Linked DNA regions of Homo sapiens: region 1 is linked to region 2. The links are contacts of gene promoters, found by promoter capture Hi-C in human tissues and cell types (Jung and others, 2019). All regions are on one chromosome and are shown on one strand. The core of a region is centred on a gene start or on the middle of the fragment in contact, and the rest is flanking DNA. Distances in the headings are between cores, read along the strand shown.

Evidence for each region. Contacts are between HindIII fragments. The study calls those that stand out against the background at their distance.
Region 1: a fragment that was not itself captured here is called in contact with the fragment with the promoter of ADH1B in region 2 in 1 of the 25 tissues and cell types used here (H1 embryonic stem cells).

Annotation. Positions count from the first base shown.
Region 1 is chr4:99,084,982-99,089,025 of GRCh38, reverse strand. It overlaps ADH5 (alcohol dehydrogenase 5 (class III), chi polypeptide), which reads left to right and starts at 238. Exons shown (of 9, transcript NM_000671.4): 1 at 238-337; 2 at 3,810-3,911. The coding sequence starts at 326. It overlaps LOC100507053 (a long non-coding RNA gene), which reads right to left and starts at 169. Exons shown (of 10, transcript NR_037884.1): 1 at 1-169. RefSeq lists a silencer at 206-255 and a promoter at 1-293. The HindIII fragment of the contact is 9,272 bases long and covers 1-4,044 here.
Region 2 is chr4:99,319,500-99,323,188 of GRCh38, reverse strand. It overlaps ADH1B (alcohol dehydrogenase 1B (class I), beta polypeptide), which reads left to right and starts at 1,788. Exons shown (of 9, transcript NM_000668.6): 1 at 1,788-1,875. The coding sequence starts at 1,858. RefSeq lists an enhancer at 1,516-1,622 and a promoter at 1,516-1,822. The HindIII fragment of the contact is 12,641 bases long and covers 1-3,689 here.

The DNA of each region.
Region 1 (4,044 bases), core at 1-2,500, 230 kb after region 2:
ATCTGTAATTTGCAAGTCTTATCTACGATAACTGCTGTAAAGTTACACGGGGAAGCCCTTTCCCGACAAAAAAAACGAGTTCTGCAACAAGTCCGTCGGATTTTAGCAATGAAACCGGCGCCGTGCAGCCTCGCCGGCGAGTGCACCCTGGAACGCACAACTTAGCGGCACGCACCACAGCTCGAGCACCGCCCTTCCGGTTGGAGCCATTGCAAGCCCCCCCCACGCCCCGCCCCCCTCGCTAGGCGCTCGCCACGCCCATGCCTCCGTCGCTGCGCGGCCCACCCCGGATGTCAGCCCCCCGCGCCGACCAGAATCCGTGAACATGGCGAACGAGGTAGGGCCCGTTGAGCGGAGGGCCCTGAGTCCAAGGGAGGGAGTGCATGGCATGGGACTAGGCTGCTATCCTCGGGGGCGCGCGAGGCTCGGCGCCCAAGACGGGATCTGGCTCTTGGTTCTGAAACTGGGCCCCCAGCGAGCGGCTCAGAGGGGCAGAAAGAGAAGGAAGCTTTGTCTCGGCTCTTCAGTTGGGAAGCAGCTTTCTTTGCTGCTTCTGGGACAGTCGGAACGGGGTGGGGGGGTGGGAGAGCCGGAGAGTGGGGGGCAGGGGCTGGTCAGGTCGGTATCCCAGTGGAAATGGCTTAGGAGCGGCCACGCATTGCTTCTTACACGAAATTAAGTAACTCGCTCTGGGTCATTCTTGCAGCTTGCATACTTGGCAGAGCTGCAGCCAGATCCCGTGCTTCTAACTCCTAGGTTGCTTGTGTTGCATAATTGAGCCTACGCCTTAATTATTGTGCCTCCAAGGAGTGTATTTTGGAAAGACCCCTACGTCCCTTTCAGAAACATTTTCGAGCACTTAAATACCAAGAGATTTATATTCCCTCTAGTCCTCACGTAACAAACACCTCTGCGAGGTGTTATCCCCATCTTACCAAAAACTGAGGTTTGAGGTTGGTTGTGCTTGGTCACACCAACGATGGCGAGCTGGGATTCCGACCCAGGTCTGCTCCTCTATGACAAATTCATAAAATACAAATTAGACAGTAAAGAAAGGCAGAAATTACGAATAACATACTCAGTCTAAAGTTGCTGATTATTTTAATGTTTTGCAATTTTGGACATTTTCTAGTAAGACAAATGGCCTTAAACATATTGGAGTTTGAAAGAAATAAACTCTAAACAGTCTTTCAGACTTAAACTGGTAGTTGCTTTTCCTTATTACTGAGTGTCTTTATTCAGAGAAGGTGAAAGATTATAATTGTTACTATAGTTCAAATGTTGAAGTAGGGCCATTTCCCGCGGATTTAGAGTGGGGCTTTGTTTTGCTTAGAATTGTCAGTAAAAGGAAAAGGTTAGGCTCCATTAAGACATTTTTTAAAGGGGAGCAGGCCATCAAATTTAGTATTCTTGTTTCTTTGGATTCCTATGTTGCATAACTTAATTGTTAGTATTCTGAATCTGACTTGTGGAGTTGAAATTTATGGCACATTGAAATGAAAAAGGTTCTAATGCAGTGTCTGATTCTTTGTACTATGAGATTTAATATCTGCAATTTAATTTTAAAAACGATCATTTCCACATTTCCAACCTCACCAATTTACAGAGGCCATTTCCCTCCCCCCCCCCTCCCCCGCCAGTTCAGACGGAGTTTCGCTCTTTGTTTCCCAGGCTGGAGTGCGATAGCGCGATCTTGGGTCACTGCAACCTTTGCCTCCCGGGTTCAAGCGATTCTCCTGTCTCAGCCTCCCGAGTAGCTGGGATTACCGGCGCCCGTCACCATGCTCGGTATTTTTGTATTTTTAGTAGAGACGGGGTTTCGCCATAGTGGCCAGGCTGGTCTCCAACTCCTGACCTCAGGTGATCCGCCCATCTCGGCCTCCCAAAGTGCTGGGATTACAGGCGTGAGCCCCTGCACCCGGCCTACAGAGGCCATTTTTTATATCTCTATGTAGTTCACCTCTCCTTTCCCTCAACCGTTTGTTCTGTTGCTACCAATAACTACTAACTTATTTTGCAAAGCTATGCTGTGCCAAGGATTGTGTTAGGGACTTCATATTCTTTTTTTTTTTTTTTTTTTTTTTTTGAGACGCAGTCTTGCTCTGTCACCCAGGCTGGAGTGCAGTGGCGCGATCTCGGCTCACTACAAGCTCCGCCTCCTGGGTTCACGCCGTTCTCCTGCCTCAGCCTCCCCGGTAGCTGTGACTACAGGCGACTGCCACCTCCCCTGGCTAATTTTTTGTATTTTTAGTAGAGACGGGGTTTCACCTAGCCAGGATGGTCTCGATCTCCTGACCTCGTGATCCGCCCGCCTCGGCCTCCCAAAGTGCTGGGATTACAGGCTTGAGCCACCGCGCCCGGCCAGGGACTTCATATTCTTTCTTATTCAGTTCTCACAATCACCCTATATGTAGGTGTTTTACCACCATTTATAATTACCTTTTCCTCATCCTTCAGTATCCTGGTTAGAAGTGAAGCTCTCCCAAACCAAGCAAAGTTACACTCTTAACCTACTTTTTTTGCTTTCTGTATTACTTTGTGCCTGTCTCTTTAAATCACACTCTTTGTAATTATTAACTTTAAAGTCTGTCTCCTGTAAACCCAGTGGCTTACAACCTTTAGTCTGTCCACACATTTCTCAAGTGTAATGTAAACTAATTAGAACCTTTCTCATTACGTGTGATTCTCTTGTAATGGAGGGTATACATGACTATAATCTCTAAAGCAGGTCTGTGTGCTATAATTAGTCACGTGTAATTTTAAATTTTCAGTAGCCTCATTAAAAAGGAAAAAGTGAAGTTTTAATATTTTAATTATGTTAAATTACATTATTTATAATGTTGTTATAAATAAACTACCATTTCAACATGTAAGCAGTATTTTTAAAAATACTGTTGATGAGATATTTTTACTTTTCTTTGAACTAAGTCTTCAAAGTCCAGCTATATTTATAGCATATCTCAGTTTTGTTTGTTTGTTTGTTTGTTTTGAGACGATGTCTCGCTCTGTTGCCCAGGCTGGAGTGCAGTGGCACAATCTCGGCTCACTGCAACCTCCACCTCCCGGGTTCAAGCCATTCTCCTGCCTCAGCCTCCTGAGTAGCTGGGACCACACAGATGCGCACCACCATGCCCAGCTAATTTTTGTATTTTTGTAGAGATGAGGTTTCACCATGCTGGCCAGGTTGGTCTTGAACTCCTGACTTCATGATCTGCCCACCTTGTCCTCCCAAAGTGCTGGGATTACAGGCGTGAGCAGCCAAGCCCGGCCAGTGGTCATTTTCTAAGAGCTCAGTAGTCATATTTGGCAAGTGGCTGCTGTATTGGCCGGTGCAGTTACAAGGGATATAGCTCCTCACTGTTACACTCCTAATCCTCCTTCCCACCCTGCAGTTTTGCACCAAGCCGGTGGTATTCAGAACAGCCTGAGCAAAAGAATTTCTTCAGGCATATGTTAAGCATGCAGATTTCTTGGACCCCATGCCAGACCTGCTGAATCAGATTCTCTCGGAACTTGTGTTCTTAACCTGCTTTTGCATATGCACTGTAGAAGGCCATTAAATATTTGATGAGTACAACTTTTTAACCAAAAGATACTTTTCTATCTGACCAGGTAATCATCTCAATTAAATCATTTTTGATGTATACTATTTGTGTGAAATCTAAAAACATATCACTTGGAAGCATATGTTTCTTTGTGAATCTGTGATATACTTTTTAAGATTAGCATTAATCTGTATCTAAATTGGCTATTAAGTAGTTACTTGTTTAGGAGGATAAACAGCTTATTCCCTTTTTTCCCCACTTCAGGTTATCAAGTGCAAGGCTGCAGTTGCTTGGGAGGCTGGAAAGCCTCTCTCCATAGAGGAGATAGAGGTGGCACCCCCAAAGGCTCATGAAGTTCGAATCAAGGTAATGATACATTTAAGGCACTGGGAAAAAAAGAGACACAATGAGGTCTCTGGATAGATGAGTAGATCTGAGATCTGCAGAGGATAAATCCCAAAGGACAGTGTCAAAGAAAAGGTGTTGAAAGTCATCCAGC
Region 2 (3,689 bases), core at 539-3,038:
TCTCTGACCAGAAATTTCCAGTAGAACTTAGGAGACTGATCTCTACACTAAATATAAAGGCCACAAAAGAGAATGGGCCCTAAAACCACAGGAGGGATGCTAGTATGACAGGGATGGAAAGAAGTGAAGCATGACTGTGAGATGGCGTTAACATATCTCCACAAGGGCGACCTTGTCCTAGATCTCAAAGTTTGGGGAGGATTTGAATGGGCCAGAGGGACAGAAAAGAAGAGAAAAAGCATGATGAGCAAGAGCTTGAATGAGGAATGGATTCCTCTTTGGAGGACCACAGAGATACATGCTTCTAAAGAGCATAGGCCCTGTATTGGAGAATGGTGAGGAATAGTTGGATGAGAAGGCTAAAGCCAGGTTATCTGGGGCTATCTTCTTTCCGTCATACCTTTCCAAACTAGAAGCAACTAAAATCATAGGACCTCCTTTGCTTTCTATTGGGTGAATGTTTCTCAGTCTTGGTGTGAGTCTCAGTGCCTACATAATTAAAGCTTACTGAAATGTTCCCTTGGCAATTTTAGAGAAATATGTCCTCTATGCTAACATGTTCATATTGACAGACTATATCTAATTAAATAGTTGCCTGTATAGTTTTATGACGCCTCCAAGTGTGGATAAAAGAAAAATCAAACTCCTATGCTTGGAAAGCCATGAGGATACTAGCTACATTGATCAAAGGGTAATGGAAATGATCCAGTGAGGATTTTGCTCCATTTCTCACAATTATTTAAAATCTGCCACAAATGCCTGTTCCTCTACAATGCCTCCCCTGAGTCCTTCATTCTGAATAGCAACTCTGTCTCTGTTCCCAAAGCATTAACTGACCCCTGTGATAGGGCACTTCCCAGCCAGGCTGATATGTAGACTTGGTTTCCTGCGTGTCTTTTCACTATAAACTGTGAGCTTTCTTTCATGAATAATAATTGTAGCTAACATTTAGGAGGGTGCTCCTATCTGCAAAACTCCATGATGAGTGCTTTACAAGGATTATTTCATTTATTCACAAACAGTCCTTTAAAATGACGCCATTATTCATCTTCATCTCACAGATAAGGAAATTAAGGCAAAAAAAATTCAGTGAAATAATAAGTCCAAGTACACAGAACAAGTAAGGAACTGGGTTGGCCTGGTCCCACAAGCCATGCCATCACCGCTGCCCCATACTGCCTCTTGGCACAGGCAGAGGTCATGTCTTATTCATCACTGCTACTCCACTGGACCCAGCTTAGTGCCTGACACAGGGAGGTGTTCAGTCCATACATACTAGTTTTGAGTGGAGCAGAATTGCCAGGCACAGTGATCCCCTTTGCTGTGACTAATTGGGTGTCTGATTCTCTGCTGTAAAGACAAAGAGGCTGCTCTCTCTATCCTACTTCGTTTTTCCTGTTTTCTTACTCTTCTTCCTTCCTCGCCACCCCATGTGCATTCAAAGTTGCAGCTTAGTGCAGACAAAGGGAATACAAGGCAGAACGACCTATGTGGGATTGAAAGAAGAGAAACAAGGAATTCCAGAGGCCGGGGGGGGGTGGGAAGTGAGGAAAAGAGAAAGTGATTACAATTTATCACTTTAACTTAATATTTAAACTAATGAAAACAAAATCTTATCTAGAATTTGGAAGTCAATATTTTGATTGCTGGTTCAGTACCCTTTTATCTGTTTTGACAGTCTGGGAATAATCCAGTGGGTGTGGCTTAAAGACATAGATCACGTGTGGAATTGGAATTGGATGTTACACAAGCAAACAAAATAAATATCTGTGCAATATATCTGCTTTATGCACTCAAGCAGAGAAGAAATCCACAAAGACTCACAGTCTGCTGGTGGGCAGAGAAGACAGAAACGACATGAGCACAGCAGGAAAAGTAAGCAAAAAATATATTACTGTTGGTAATATATTCTCATCAATATAACAAAGAAAGGAATACAGTATTTGATGAATAATTTAAAATTCATATCTAAATTAGAAATGATATGCTGAAATATGATATGCAATATACACCTCAATATGTAATGTATACTGAACTGCAGTGGAAATAAGCTATTCTTAAGTACCTTTAACAGGAATGTATAGAACCTGTGTCTATTAGTCTTTATTTCCTACATTAAATAAATTTACAGTAAAATGATAGTTTATTCCAAGCTAATCATGACTGATTTGTAAATCTAAAGTTAGAAAAGTCTTTAATGGCAAGTTATCTTTATAATAAGAAACCATAATTCAAATGTGTTATTATTTTTATTCAAATTTTTTATGAACACAGGAAAGTTGTCTGACAGAAGTTTGATGAGAGGAATTTGACTCAGAAGACTGAAATATCCTTTAACCTTACTATAAAATATCTTACAAAATACTCATTGATTTCACAGCATTAGAATCATCAAGGTTAAGCAAGACATCAACATGCAAATTCTGATTAAAAGGGGTCCATTATGATACAATTCAGGGAATTTCCACAAAAATCCTATGGAACAGTATCTTCCCCATTTAAAAGTTAATATGGTTTTACAGAAAATCAATGATACAATTTGAATAATAATACAATTTGAATCACTTAGCACTAGGAATACAGATATTTGGTTTTTTCTTCTATAAATTTGTACTTATTTGCTCAATGTGTTTACAGGTGCATGTGGTCATTCAATATAATCAATTGATTTTTTTAATTGTTTAATTACATAAACCTGTGCAACTATGTCCAGTCCTTTTTTTGTGTTAGGAGTGTACCACACTGTAAAATATCTCACTATGATAATTCAATTTAAAGGTTCTGAGGCTTCTCTCTGCATTGTGTGACAAACAGGCTCATATCAATAAGACTGGTTGATGGAGCTAGAGGACGTTATTCTAAGTAAAGTAACTCATGAATGGAACACCAAATATCCAATGTTCTCACTTAAAAGTGGTAGCTAAACTATGAGGACACAAAGGATGAGAATGATATAATGGACTTTGGGGACTGAGGGAAAAGGGCAGTAGGAGGAATAAGACATAAAAGACTACATATTGGGTTCAGTCTACACTGCTTGTGTGAGGGGTGCACCAAAATATCAGAAATCACCACTAAAGAACTTATCCGTGTAACCAAAAACCATCTGCACCCCAAAAACTATTGAAATTAAAAATTAATCAATGAATAAATTTTAAGATAAAAATAATGCATGTAATTTACCCAGCACAGGTCACAATGTGCCTGTCACATCATAAGCACCTCATAATAAGAATCTTCCTACTATTAGTACCTTCTGTCTAAGTATTCTGGTATTTATTTTGGCATTGACCATGTTGAACATCCTACAAAGTTGAAAATTTTGACAAATAAATAATGAAAATGAATTGGCAGAAAAATAAATCTCAATTGAATTTTTAAATTATATTTGCAATTATGTTGGTTCTTTCTAGAAAGGGCTCTGCGAATTATACATGCTTTACCACAACGAAGATGGGTTTTACAGTACACTGCCAAGCACTAGAAATATATGCTGAACTTTATTTTTAAGAACATCTATGGATAAGCTCTGCTAAACAGAAATCCAAGCACACTGTTTCTCCAGTTTTAAAATATACATGCGTGGGTCTGAGTGTATACACACACACACACGTGCACACACACACACCACCAACTCTAATCTCTATAATATTTGGCTCAAATCTAAGCTGAAAGAAGTCTCTACACAT